2 separate regions of the Homo sapiens genome follow, and region 2 is linked to region 1. The links are contacts of gene promoters, found by promoter capture Hi-C in human tissues and cell types (Jung and others, 2019). All regions are on one chromosome and are shown on one strand. The core of a region is centred on a gene start or on the middle of the fragment in contact, and the rest is flanking DNA. Distances in the headings are between cores, read along the strand shown. Region 1 holds the start of ALOXE3 (arachidonate epidermal lipoxygenase 3). Region 2 holds the start of ZBTB4 (zinc finger and BTB domain containing 4).

The links. Contacts are between HindIII fragments. The study calls those that stand out against the background at their distance.
Region 2: the fragment with the promoter of ZBTB4 here is called in contact with the fragment with the promoter of ALOXE3 in region 1 in 1 of the 25 tissues and cell types used here (dorsolateral prefrontal cortex).

The regions. Positions count from the first base shown.
Region 1 is chr17:8,115,143-8,121,179 of GRCh38, reverse strand. It overlaps ALOXE3 (arachidonate epidermal lipoxygenase 3), which reads left to right and starts at 2,666. Exons shown (of 16, transcript NM_021628.3): 1 at 2,666-2,694; 2 at 2,877-3,336; 3 at 4,200-4,404; 4 at 5,492-5,573. The coding sequence starts at 3,190. TRK-TTT3-5 (tRNA-Lys (anticodon TTT) 3-5) reads right to left here and starts at 2,025; the gene lies at 1,953-2,025. It overlaps TRQ-CTG1-5 (tRNA-Gln (anticodon CTG) 1-5), which reads right to left and starts at 1,428; the gene lies at 1,357-1,428. It overlaps HES7 (hes family bHLH transcription factor 7), which reads left to right. Exons shown (of 4, transcript NM_001165967.2): 4 at 1-588. It also overlaps TRL-TAG1-1 and TRR-TCT2-1. RefSeq lists silencers at 730-939, 1,310-1,399, 1,530-1,579 and enhancers at 2,100-2,199, 2,350-2,419, 2,500-2,579, 2,301-3,500. The HindIII fragment of the contact is 5,361 bases long and covers 1-5,151 here.
Region 2 is chr17:7,476,023-7,482,059 of GRCh38, reverse strand. It overlaps ZBTB4 (zinc finger and BTB domain containing 4), which reads left to right and starts at 2,429. Exons shown (of 4, transcript NM_001128833.2): 1 at 2,429-2,604. SLC35G6 (solute carrier family 35 member G6) reads right to left here and starts at 614. Exons shown (of 2, transcript NM_001102614.2): 1 at 541-614; 2 at 1-72. The coding sequence starts at 543. RefSeq lists silencers at 2,073-2,332, 2,353-2,812, 3,073-3,122. The HindIII fragment of the contact is 10,425 bases long and covers 1-4,840 here.

The sequences.
Region 1 (6,037 bases), core at 1,417-3,916:
GCTCTCCATGGCCCAAGCCCCGGGGCAGACAGGTAAGTAAAGAAGAGAGCAGAGCGGGAACTGAGATCGAAATTGAAACCAGGTGGAAAGAGAGAGATAGGGTAGGGGGAGAAGGGATGGGGGCCTTTAAGAAAAAAACGGATAAAAAGGAAAAATTGAAATAAAATCGACTCTGGTGGGATTCGAACCCACAACCTTTGAATTGCTCTATTCGTCACTAGAAGTCCAATGCGCTATCCATTGCGCCACAGAGCCACCCGACGAACGGCGGCGTCTTGTAGCTTACGGGTACTAGAGTGGGAATGGGGCAGGGTTGGGGAGCGGGGCTAAGGGACTTGGGCGGGACATGCCAGGAGGGCGCGGTTTGGATCTCAGAGGCCAAGCCAGGTAGAGGTAGCGGGCGCAAAGCATGTTAGCCAGGTGAGAGAGAGGGCGCACATGGGTCGAAAAAACAGGGAGGGAGAGCAACCGAAAATGGCTGAGCGAGCGAGTGCAGAGCTCCGGCTGCCCGCTTGGGGGGTGTTTCCGGCTCAGGCGCTCCCCACTCCCAGATATAGTCCCACCCAAATAAACTAGTTTTGTTGTAAATTTCTGTGTGTTTTTGTCTCTTCTCGTTTATCTGTTCTGCCATCTGCTGCTATGCGGTCCACAGTCTCGATGGTTCTTCATTTCCAGTCTAAAAGATGTGGAAAAGGAGACGAATCAATTTGGCACTCTTAAGATTTGCCCCATTCCTTACTTCTAGTCTCTTAGGAGGACAACGGGGACAGTAAGTTTTCGTGCAGGTAGCGTGGCCGAGCGGTCTAAGGCGCTGGATTTAGGCTCCAGTCTCTTCGGAGGCGTGGGTTCGAATCCCACCGCTGCCAGGCTGGAGTTTTTCTGGTGGATTACGCACCTGCTACAGTTCTGTTAACAGTTCTGTGAGGTTACACCTATTTACATGCAGAAAGTAATTTTACGAATTCCCCTGGTAATGGTTTCACCATCATCTTCCGTGTTTGGTCTTCCAGAGAGATCATAGGCCTGCATCCATCCCAGAAGCTAAGACCTGATGGTAACTGCTGAAGCAATATTTCGTTTCTTCATAACATCTCTATTATTTCGTTTCTTCATAACATCTCTATTTTAACATGTTTTCAAATGTTAGCTCAACTTCCAACATATTTAAATAATTTATTGTACGTTCTCTTAACACTGTGTTATAGGACTCAATTATCCGGTAGGAAAAGCACAAATAATTGGTAGTGTCCTAGTTTACTTTTTTTTTTTGTCGTATTATCTTGGGTCATAGGAGTATCCCCTCTGTGAAAATCAATTAACAATATTCAACATGCTGATATTAAAAGAAAAGCTTCAAGGTTCCACCGAGATTTGAACTCGGATCGCTGGATTCAGAGTCCAGAGTGCTAACCATTACACCATGGAACCTCCCTCGTGGTGTCTTTCAAGATTGTGTACATTACTGGACATTCTATTTTGCGTGTCTTCCACACCCGTCACTTAAAACGAAAACAAAACAAAGTCTGCTGTTGGATATGGTAGACACCGTTATCGAGCACTTGAAATATATGAATTCAGATGTATTGCCAGCTTCTAAATACACATCTTCTTTTGAAGGAAGGCTTTGTACAAACAAAAAGACTTAAAATTTCATTAATATTTTTAGAATGTTGATTATATGTTAAAATAAGATTTTGGTATATTAGGGTAAGTAAAATAGATCCGTGAAATTAATTTCGCTTGCTTTTTATTCTTTGTAATGTGGCTACCAGAAAATGTAAATTCGATAATACGGCTCGCGTTTGTACTGTTTTAAAGTATGTTTATTACCCTCCACCGTCGTTTGCTGTATTTTGTGGAAATCAAGTTTCTGTATCACCTAGCTTTAAAAACTAGTAACTATTTTTGTTACCATTTTATGCGAAGTGCGGTACCCAAAAGCAAAGACATGCCGCCCGAACAGGGACTTGAACCCTGGACCCTCAGATTAAAAGTCTGATGCTCTACCGACTGAGCTATCCGGGCTCTTCACGAGAGCTTTACTTTTTGCTTATAAGAGGGTTCTCTATAGGAAAAGCCAGGCTTGTAGAACCGACAGAGGATTTTATCTGTGCAGCATAGAATATTTTGGCACAGATTTGGAAGCAGCGGGTGAAGCTCGCCTGCTGCTGATTGAGCTTTTTCTGCCTCCCGTTCTTAGAGCCCCCGCCGAGGCTGCGACGCAGGGACTGTACCATAGTAGAGGCTGGAACAGTGCGGCGCCGGAACCGGCCGCGCGGGGCCGCTGCGGGCTATGGGCTTCTCTGAGAGGTTCCTCCCCAGTCCCTAGTGGCCCAGATCCCGGACACCTGGGCTCCCGCCCAGGATCCTGCAGGCCCAGGGCGGTCCTGGAGCGGAAAGAATGCCACGCGGGGCATTCAGACCCTGTTTGCCGGCGCTGTATTTCGCTTTCCTGACCTGCCCTACTCCAGAGCAGAGAATGAGGTCGGGCGTGCCAAAGGCTGGGGACAAAGAGGGCCATGCGTGGGGGGATCGGTGTATGGGGTGACAGGGAGCTGTTCCTGACCATTTGACATGTGCTGGAATGCGTGTGCGACTCACCTGCGTGTGGCTGCAGTCACGTGTGATTTATGACCAAGTGCAACTCTCCACTGTTTAGTGATTCACACGGATGATTCACACGTAGGAATGCAGGTGCCCTGTGCTCATCTCTGCCTGGGAATGGGGAGGAACAGATCTTGGGGGACATTGGGGAGTGGGCGGACAAGCACTCCAGGGCATCAGTCCGGGCCGCTGACCAGGCGGAGGGCAGTGTCCCAATTATACAGGCGTTACCTCCTTTTCTCCATCTCAGCATCTGATCCCTCCCTCCGCAGTGGAACCCAGGCTCCTGATATCCATCTGGGTGAGCCAGCCAGAGGGACCGGCTGTGTCAGAGGCAAGCAAACAAGTATTAGAGTGCAAGACTGTGGGCGGAGAGAGGAAGCCCGAGCCGCCAGCAGGGAGCTTCGGAGAGAGAAAGCCCAGGAACATCCCAGAGAGAGCTGGGCCCATCCTCAGCCCTACCCAGCCCCGCAGCCCCTAGCCCTCCGCCCAGAAACCCAGCCCTGTCCGGCGTGCCGCTCTTCTCCTCCAGGCCGGCTGCTGCTGCGGCCAGCGTTGCCGGGGCATCCCTTCCTCCTTCCCATCATGGCAGTGTACCGCCTGTGTGTGACCACTGGTCCCTACCTGAGGGCCGGCACACTGGACAACATCTCTGTCACACTGGTGGGCACGTGTGGTGAAAGCCCCAAGCAGCGGCTAGATCGAATGGGCAGGGACTTCGCCCCTGGATCGGTGAGTACAAAGGAGACAGGGAAGCGCGACCTCAGAGGGGCAGGGGCCGCAGGCGGGAGGAGTATTCCTCCTGGACTCTTGAGATCCTGCTGAACTCAGGATACCGGCCCTGACCTCCTCACCTTCCCTATTGAGGTCCCTGTCTTTCCTGGAGATGATGAACTCCATCCAGGCAGGACTGTGGAGAGGAAGGAGCGTTGGACAGGGAGTAGAGGGACTTCCCCTGGCTCCTAAACTCCTCCCATAATTGACCGTGGGCTTTGGGCAAGTCGCTTCCCCTCTCTGAGCCTGGGTTTCCTCTTATCGAGGGGATCTGCCTGCCTCTGCCAGCCCCAGGTGGCCTCCACAAGAGTTCCCAGCCGGCCTAGGAAGCTAGTGAAATGCAGTGCCCACTGTGCTCGGGCACCTTTTTCTTTTCTTTTTGAGATGGAGTTTTGCTCTTGTTGCCCAGGCTGGAGGGCAGTGGTGTGATCTCAGGTCACTGCAACCTCCACCTCCCGGGTTTAAGCGATTCTCCTGCCTCAGCCTCCCAAGTAGCTGGGATTACAGGCGCCTGCCACGACGCCCGACTAATTTTTTGTATTTTTAGTAGAGAAGCGGTTTCATCGGGCAGGCTGGTCTCAAACTCCTGACCTCAGGTGATCCACCCGCCTCGGCCTCCCAAAGTGTTAGGATTACAGGCGTGAGCCACCTCTCCCGGCCCGGGGAAGCTTTTTCTAATTCATACAAAAGCCCGGTATGGGCTGGGAGCAGCTCAGGTTTGTATGCCCGAATAGGCTTAGGTGTAGATGCATCTTGCAAGGCGCAAGGACCGCCTTGGCAGTTCCCCGCCTCTCACCTGCTTGCTGTCTTGGTCCCCTCAGGTACAGAAGTACAAGGTGCGTTGCACAGCGGAGCTGGGTGAGCTCTTGCTGCTGCGTGTACACAAGGAGCGCTACGCTTTCTTCCGCAAGGACTCTTGGTACTGTAGCCGCATCTGTGTCACCGAACCGGATGGTAGTGTATCCCACTTCCCCTGCTATCAGTGGATTGAAGGCTACTGCACCGTGGAGCTGAGGCCAGGAACAGGTGGGCCAGAGACGAGGACTACACTGTACTGCAGAAGGTGTCCTTTGGGATTAGGAGTGGGGTCTCACAGAGCCCCAGAGTATAGGGAATAAGATTGAGGTCAGAAACTCTGGGCTCCCAAGTAGATGTTTTCTGAAAAAAGGGAGCCTCTCAAGCCCTGAAATGCGAGGGTTTTGCAGACGGTATTGACTCTTCTGGAGACTCACATAGACACATACACTCATATAGGCAGGCACCCTTCTCTCATACACATAGGAAGCACTTTGCTTTCCACAGCCTCCCTCTGCACTTCTCCAGAGTGAGTTCCTCCAGACCCCAGAGAGGAACTAACCTGCACCCTGAGTCATTAGATTTTAACAGGTAGAGAAGCCCTGGCTGCTCAGAGATTTTAGCTGGAGAGGCCCCATTCCCTCCCCTACTACTAGCTTTTCTAGTGTGGATGAGGTCCCTGAGAGGTGCTGCTAGGATTCCTTGTTGAATTTCTGGGGCCTTCTGCAGATGCTGGGCTTGAGCATCTTCAGTTTCCAGAGCTATCTGATCTGGAGAGGCAACAGTAGGGCTGCTCTGGGTGTTGGGAGGAGGCTCAGGATGAAGGAGGGATATTCTAGGTCAAAGTGAGGCAAATGAATATTACCCCATGGTCCGTAATAAGTTTTCCATAGACCTCACTATAAACTCTCATCCATCTCCACAGCACATCCATCCATAGCTTCACAAAATATATTTGTTCATCAGTCATTTAAAGTGCATCTTATACACATGGTGCCAGGCACCATGCTAGAAGCCGGGAATACAGAAGAAGAAAAAGAAGAAAAAGGAATACAAGACGACTTCTGCCCTCAGGGAGTTTATAGTCTGGAGGGGAGATAAACATGCCAACAATTGGGAAGATTGCTATAATTTGGGGGTGAAGCTGTCTTGAATCCCTTCTACTGATGAATACACAAAGAACGTGGGGGCACCGCCACGTGTTTCACAGGGATGTGGCTGTCGGATTGGGTTCAAGGGTCAGGGGGTTCAGGCAAGGTTTGCAGAAGATGTTGTTGGAAAAGAGACTTATACCAAGAGTAATTTTCATTCCCCACAGCAAGAACTATTTGTCAGGACTCTCTTCCCCTCCTCCTGGATCACAGGACACGGGAGCTCCGGGCCCGACAAGAATGCTACCGGTGAGGGTGGCCTAATTTGACTTCTTTCCCCATCTTTATCCTGACCTCAGTCTTAATCAGATTGTTCCTAACTCTAACCTCATTCTCAACCTTGGGTGCCTAGCTTGGATCAGGACTCTTATTTGGACCTAACCCCACTTTAATAGTGACCCTGAATCTGAACTGAGAACACCAATAGTAACAGTTGTCCCAACACCACCAATGAATCCATACTCAGCCCTCAACTGTCCCTGATGTAACCCAGATCCCAATATCAGAAGTGACCTGAAGTATCCACCAATCTCAGTCCTTTCTCAGCCTCCCCCACTAAACCGGCCATGATTTTAATCTCAACACAAACCCATCTCTAACCCAGTGTGGGCATTAATGCCATCCTTAAATGCTACCCTATGTGAAGCCAGTGCTTTCATGGAGAAATGTCCAATTCCTTGTCACTCATCCAGAAAGTAGGTGGTTTTTGAAGT
Region 2 (6,037 bases), core at 1,180-3,679, 640 kb after region 1:
GAGGCTGGGTGGAGCGGAGGGCGGCGATGGGTGTGTGGAGTCAGGCGGGTTCAAGTAGGGGTGACTGCCAGCCTGTTAGGGAGAAAGGAGCTCAGGGTAGACAGCAGCCGCAGCCCAGGCGACCTGGGGCAGGGCAGATGCCAGGATGGGGTCTGGGACCCTGTGGGACTGTACAGTGTTGGGCTATCTTGCTGAGGAACTCTTCGGAGCTAGAAAGGGCCTAAAAGATGAGTGAGATGTTATAATGTGGGCCTGGAGCAGGAAGCAAGGAGTGAGCAGTCCTGGAGCATCGTTTCCCTGGGTAAGTTGTTCCTGGGAGGAGAAAAAGGACCCAGGATGCTCTCTCGGATTGAGGAAGGGGAGGAAGCCTCAGATGCTATGCATCTGTATGATGCCACAGGTTCCAGAGACATCTGGGTACACCATTATGAATTCTATTTGTGGGTATCTCTGAGACAGCTAAGTTTTAGGAAAGGAGGGGAAATGGAGCAACCAGGAGCTATAGGGAGGGAGTACTAGGCCCCTGGCCCCCACACTCACCATCTTTCCTTGGACTTTCTCCTCTCCTCCTGGCTCAGGGAGCCTGGGCCCCTCAGAGCTCCAGCCATTGTGACATGGTTGGAGTGGGGGTGGGGTTCTTCCCTGGAACTCTCCTGAGGTGGTAGCACGCCTATTTTCCCGCTGAGTCCAACTCTGCTTCTTTTCTTTCTTTCTTTCTTTTTTTGTTTGCGACGAAGTTTCCACTCTTGTTATCCAGGCTGGAGTGCAATGGTGTGATCTCATCTCACTGCAACCTCCACCTCCCAGATTCAAGCGATTCTCCTGCCTCAGCCTCCCAAGTAGCTGGGATTACAAGAATGTGCCACTACACCTGGCTAATTTTTTTTTTTTTTTTTGGGACGGAGTTTTGCTCTTCTTGCCCAGGCTGGAGTGCAGTGGTGCGTGCAATCTCGGCTCACCGCAACCTCCACCTCCTGGGTTCAAGCAATTCTCCTACCTCATCCTCCCAAGTACCTGGGATTACAGGCATGTGCCACCACACCCCGCTAATTTTTTATTTTTCGTAGAGATGGGGTTTCTCCATGTTGGCCATGCTGGTCTTGAACTCCTTACCTCAAGTGATCCACCCCACCACCCCCCGCCTCCCAAAGTGGTGGAATTACAGGCATGAGCCACCGTGCCCAGCCCAACTCTGCTTCTTTTCTATTTATGTCTCCATGACTCCAAAGTTTGTCTGATTCTTTTATTCTTTTTATGGCTAGCTCTGTGGCTTTACATTAATTTGTTTATTTATATCTTGCATGGTTTCAGAGAGGTTTTTTTGTTGTTGTTTTTTTTTTGAGACGGAGTCTGTCTCTGTCGCCCAGGCTGGAGTGCAGTGGCGAGATCTCGGCTCACTGCAAGCTCCGCCTCCCAGGTTCACGCCATTCTCCTGCCTCAGCCTCCCGAGTAGCTGGGACCACAGGCGCCCGCCACCACGCCCGGCTAATTTTTTTGTATTTTTAGTAGAGACAGGGTTTCACCGTGTTAGCCAGGATGGTCTCGATCTCCTGACCTCGTGATCCGCCCACCTCGGCCTCCCAAAGTGCTGGGATTACAGGCGTGAGCCACCGCGCCCAGCCTCAGAGAGGTTTTAAGGCAAGGAGCTGTGAACCCTGGCTCCTCCATCTCCTTAGTTTTTAATTTTCCAGCACCAGGGAGGAGTTCTTGGGATTGTCCCTGTGGAGTTTCAGGAATGTGTTTTTTCTGTGTGTGCTTCCACCTGGTGTTTTGTTGATGCTGTCCCCAGAGGCCGACACCAAGGCCTCTGCATTTATGTTCAAGTATACAGATGTGGATCTATCTGCTGGTGGGGACAAAGTACCCAGCCAGCTTCATGTGTTCATTTGCGCTGGTGGTCGTTCGTGTGTGCCCCGTATGCAGGGCCAGGGCCTTCTTTTTCCGCGGCCTGCTGAGCTTTCCTGCGCATTCCTGGAGAGGGTGTGTGTGTGTGTCCAGGGCTGGCCCTCTTTGAGTGTGCCGACCCTGGGTCTGTGAGTCCCACCGGGCCTGATTATGAGTCTGCCATGTCATGTCTGCACCCTGAGAGCCTGTGTGTTATGCTTTCAGGCAGTGTGCACCGCTGAGTGAAGGGCGTGCAGGAGGAAGGGCGGAGGGAGCCCTTTCCCTGGGGGTCGGTGGTCTTGCGCCCCTGCCGGGATGCTGCAGCCCGGCCCGCGCCCCGCTCGGTGTCCACCCGCCCGGTGGCCCAGCGCGGCGCAGTGTCATGCCGCGGGGGTCAGTCCTGGGGAAGGCCGTCGGGCGCTCGGAGCTTTGTGTCGGTGTCGGCTGCGCTGCGCCGGCCTCCTCTCGGCGGCGGCGGCGGCGGCGCTGGGGGGGGACTGTTTCCGGGGGTGGGGGTGGGGGTAGGACCGGGGCGGGGGGAGCCGATGATGTCAGCGGCGGCGGCGGCGGCGGCAGCGGGGCCGGGCCGGGGCCAGGCGCTGGGGGGGCCAGGGCCGGAGCTGGAGCCGGAGCCGGAGCTGGAGGCGGGCAAAACCGGAGCGGCCGGGGGCGGCCACGGTGATGAGCCGGGCCTGGCGGACGCGGCGCCATCGCAGTCAGGTGGGCCCTGGGGCGAACTGGGCAGGGCCAGGGCGGACCGGAGCCAACTGCCAGGCCCCCTCTCCGCTGCCCGGCGCTGCGGGAGCCCCGACCGCGCCCCGCGCCCAGACCGCTCTCCTTTGGGGTTGACCTGGGGGCGCAGGGGTCGGGGGCTGAGCCTGGCCCCGCCCCCGGGCGCGCACGACGCTGGGGGGCGACTAAGGGGGCCCTGGTATGGCGTCCGAGCGAGGGGCGGCCGTGGGACGCGATCGCCTGGGGCCGTGGAAGGGGAGGTGCTCACTCCCTCTTTGAAGGGTTAATTCTGCAGCCTAATGGCCCCCTCCCCCCGTGGGGCAGATTGGGGGTGGGGTGGGGCGGGTGTGAGCCCGGGCAAGCGCTGCAAGCTGCTGGGAGGGTGATGGCGTAGGAGCCAGGCAGAGAGGGGGAGGGGTGGGCCGCCGAGCGCCCCAGAGTTGGGGTGTGCGGGGTGCGCAGGGCGAGCTGGGGCCCCGGAACCGCCGCGCCGTCGGGGCAGGGTTGTGGCTGTGAGTCTTGGAGATCGTGTGTCTTGTGCTGTGTGGTGGGGCAAGGTAAACCTCTCCTGGGCACCACCGTTTGCTGGCAGCCAGGGGTCTGGGTAGGGCCCTCCCTGGGCCATGGAGATAGAAAGCCAGGAAGGGTGTCCAGTGTTGTGGGGCAGAGTTACAAGACGAGCCCTGTGGCTTTGGGTGACAGATGGGTATTCTGAGCAGGGCACAGCATGCTGGGTGCAGAGTTTGTTCGATGTGGGGCTGTATGTTTTCTACAGCATGTGTTTTCTCGCATGTGTGTCTTGTGCTGCACCTATGACCTGTTTATGAACTGTTTTCTGCAGAGCTGGCATGCTGTATGTGTTGCGGAGGGTGCCAGGATGCAGTGTATGTGCCCTTTTGGAGGGGGCGGTTGTGGGCCTTTGAGTCAGAAGGCGTCACGTCTGGGTCCCATTTCTGTGGCCCTGCTGAGGTGTGGTCCAGTGGTGAAGAGGGCGATGGATGGGTTTGCGTGTCTGTGATGAGCGCGTTGCATGGGGGCTGCGCGTCTAGAACTCAGATCCCAAAGATCATGAGAGGAGCGAGGAACCCCGGGGTATGTCTCAGGGGCCTGTGGGTCAGTTGGCACTGGTGTGAGGGGCTCGAGGTGGAATGCGCCAGTTGTGTTTATGGGATCATGGGCAGCCAAGCGAGGGGAAGGTTGTGTGTTTGCAACATTCTCCACAGGATTCTTTTGTGACGTTGTTTGTAGGAGCCTGTCTGGGCTGCTGAGCTGGGAGGCAAACTGGTCAGAAAACACATGTGGGGAGGGAGGTGGCGTGACAAGGGCAGTGTGGGCCTCAGACCCAAGAGGCCAGCCGCAAGCAGGCTGTGTGTGCGTGCCTGCCGTCTGTGTGCTTAAGTGGCGGTGGGGCTGCGGAGGGGATTTGGTATGAGGAAGGCGGGAGATAAATGCAGGGTAGCGCATGGAGGCCGGCGGGAGGCATGGGTGTTGTCAGATGGCCCAGCTAATCTTTGCAGGGTCTGTATGTTTGCCCCTCATGAGCCTGCCCAGCGTGTCAGGGTCACCCGGAGGAGAGGCTGGGCGGCCACAAGGGAAGTAAGCTTAGACAGAGAGGCTCCTTGGCCATGTTTATGTAAAGGCTGGGTGTGACTCTTGTCACTAAAATGGAAAAAAGAAACGTGAAGTTTTCAGCCTCCTCCTGCTTCACCCTCTCCCTCTCTCTGCCCCCCTTGTGGGTATCTCTGACGCACACTGGGCCCCACTCCTGCGACGGTGGAAGGGCCTCAGAACAGAATTCGCTCACTAGGCAGATTCCTCAGAACAGGTTTTCCTCACCTTTGGGGACTGGGCCCTTCTAGGGGTGTGTGTGCAAGTGCATTCCAAGCCTGCACACCACTGTCTACTGTGCCCGGCCCCACTGGAAGGATGTGTGTACGTGGGGGAAGGGAGGGTGCTGCGGACAGGCCCTCCGGCATGGGGGGCTGGGAAGGGGTGGCTGCCGTGGGAGCCTGCTCAACAGGTGCACAGTGACGGTCTGGTGAAGAGAAAGGAGCCATGGTCCAGGGCTGAGGAGCTCTGGCGTCTTTACCATTCCCTCACTGGCACTTGATCTGAAGGAAGCTCAGTTCCTCATCTGCAGAATGGGGCTGATTGTCTGCCCTGCGTATCTTCCAAAAGCACATGGGAAACGGACCCGGAAAGTGGCTATAGTCTGGGGGCTGTGCCTATGCCAGCCCCTGTCAGCCCTCCCCCAGGACTGGGAATTCCCTTCTTGGGGCTTCGCTGATAATAATGGCAGCACACACTTGCTTAGCACTGACCGTGCACCAGCCTGTCCTCAGGGCACTTATATGTGGCCACTCTGTCCTCAGAACAACACCCTGAAGTAGGCACTCTACCTCCCTTTTTCAAGTGAGGCAGCTGAGGTCCAGAGAAGTTAAGTAATCTGCCCCAAGTCACTTAGCTAGTAAGAGGTGAAGCTGTATTTGAACCCGGGCAATCAGGTTGAAGATCTTGTGCTCTTAACTACTGTACTCTGCTGCCTTCTGGAACATTCAGTGGATGGTCCTTTCTGTGCAACTCCCTCCAACACTCTTCTCCCCAGTTGCTGCAGAACTTAGCATTTGCAGCAGTCCATTTCAGAAGACCCGGATGCTCAGGGATCCCCAGCTGAGGGCATGAGAACCTGAGTCTCTGCTGCTGTGTAAGGTGGATGCTGGCCATAGGAGCACAAAAGGTTGATGAGTCAGAGGAAGGAATGATCGTTCTCATCCTGTGGATCAGGGAGGGCCAAGAAGGAGGTGGCCTTGGAGTCAGATCTTAACGTTTTGGAGGGATTTTGACAAGCTTGGGGAAAGAGCATTTCTGGCAGAACAAGCCAGCACAGGCAAAGGCATGAAGGTGTGGGTCATGTAGAAGCTGGAGAGCACACTGGGTGTCTGGGGTTTTGTTCATTTGTTTAGAAACTGGGTCTCAATATATTGCCCAGGCTGGACTCAAACTCCTGGGCTCAAGCAATCCTCTAGCTGCAGCCTCCTGAGTAGCTGGGACTATGGGTATCTGCCATCACGCCTGGCTCACGCTGAGTACTGTGTGTTTGAAGAGGATAACACAAGGCAAGATTAAAAAGGAAGATTGGAGCTAGACCAGAGCCCTTGACTGCCTGGTAGAAGAATTTGAACTTTCTTCTAGAGTCAGTGGGGACCAGTGGAGGTTTTGAGCCCAGGAGTGATAGTCCTGAACTGTGGTTAGGGACGTTGACCCTCAGGGGGAGGAGGGCTGGATGGAGGAAGGTAAGCCTGGAGGCCAGGGGATAGCTGGGAGGCCATAACCTTGGACCACGTGAGTGTTAACAAGGACCTGAGCTATCGAAGGGAAGATTTCCAGAGCCATTCCCAAGCTCGGCGGCGATTTCAGCCAC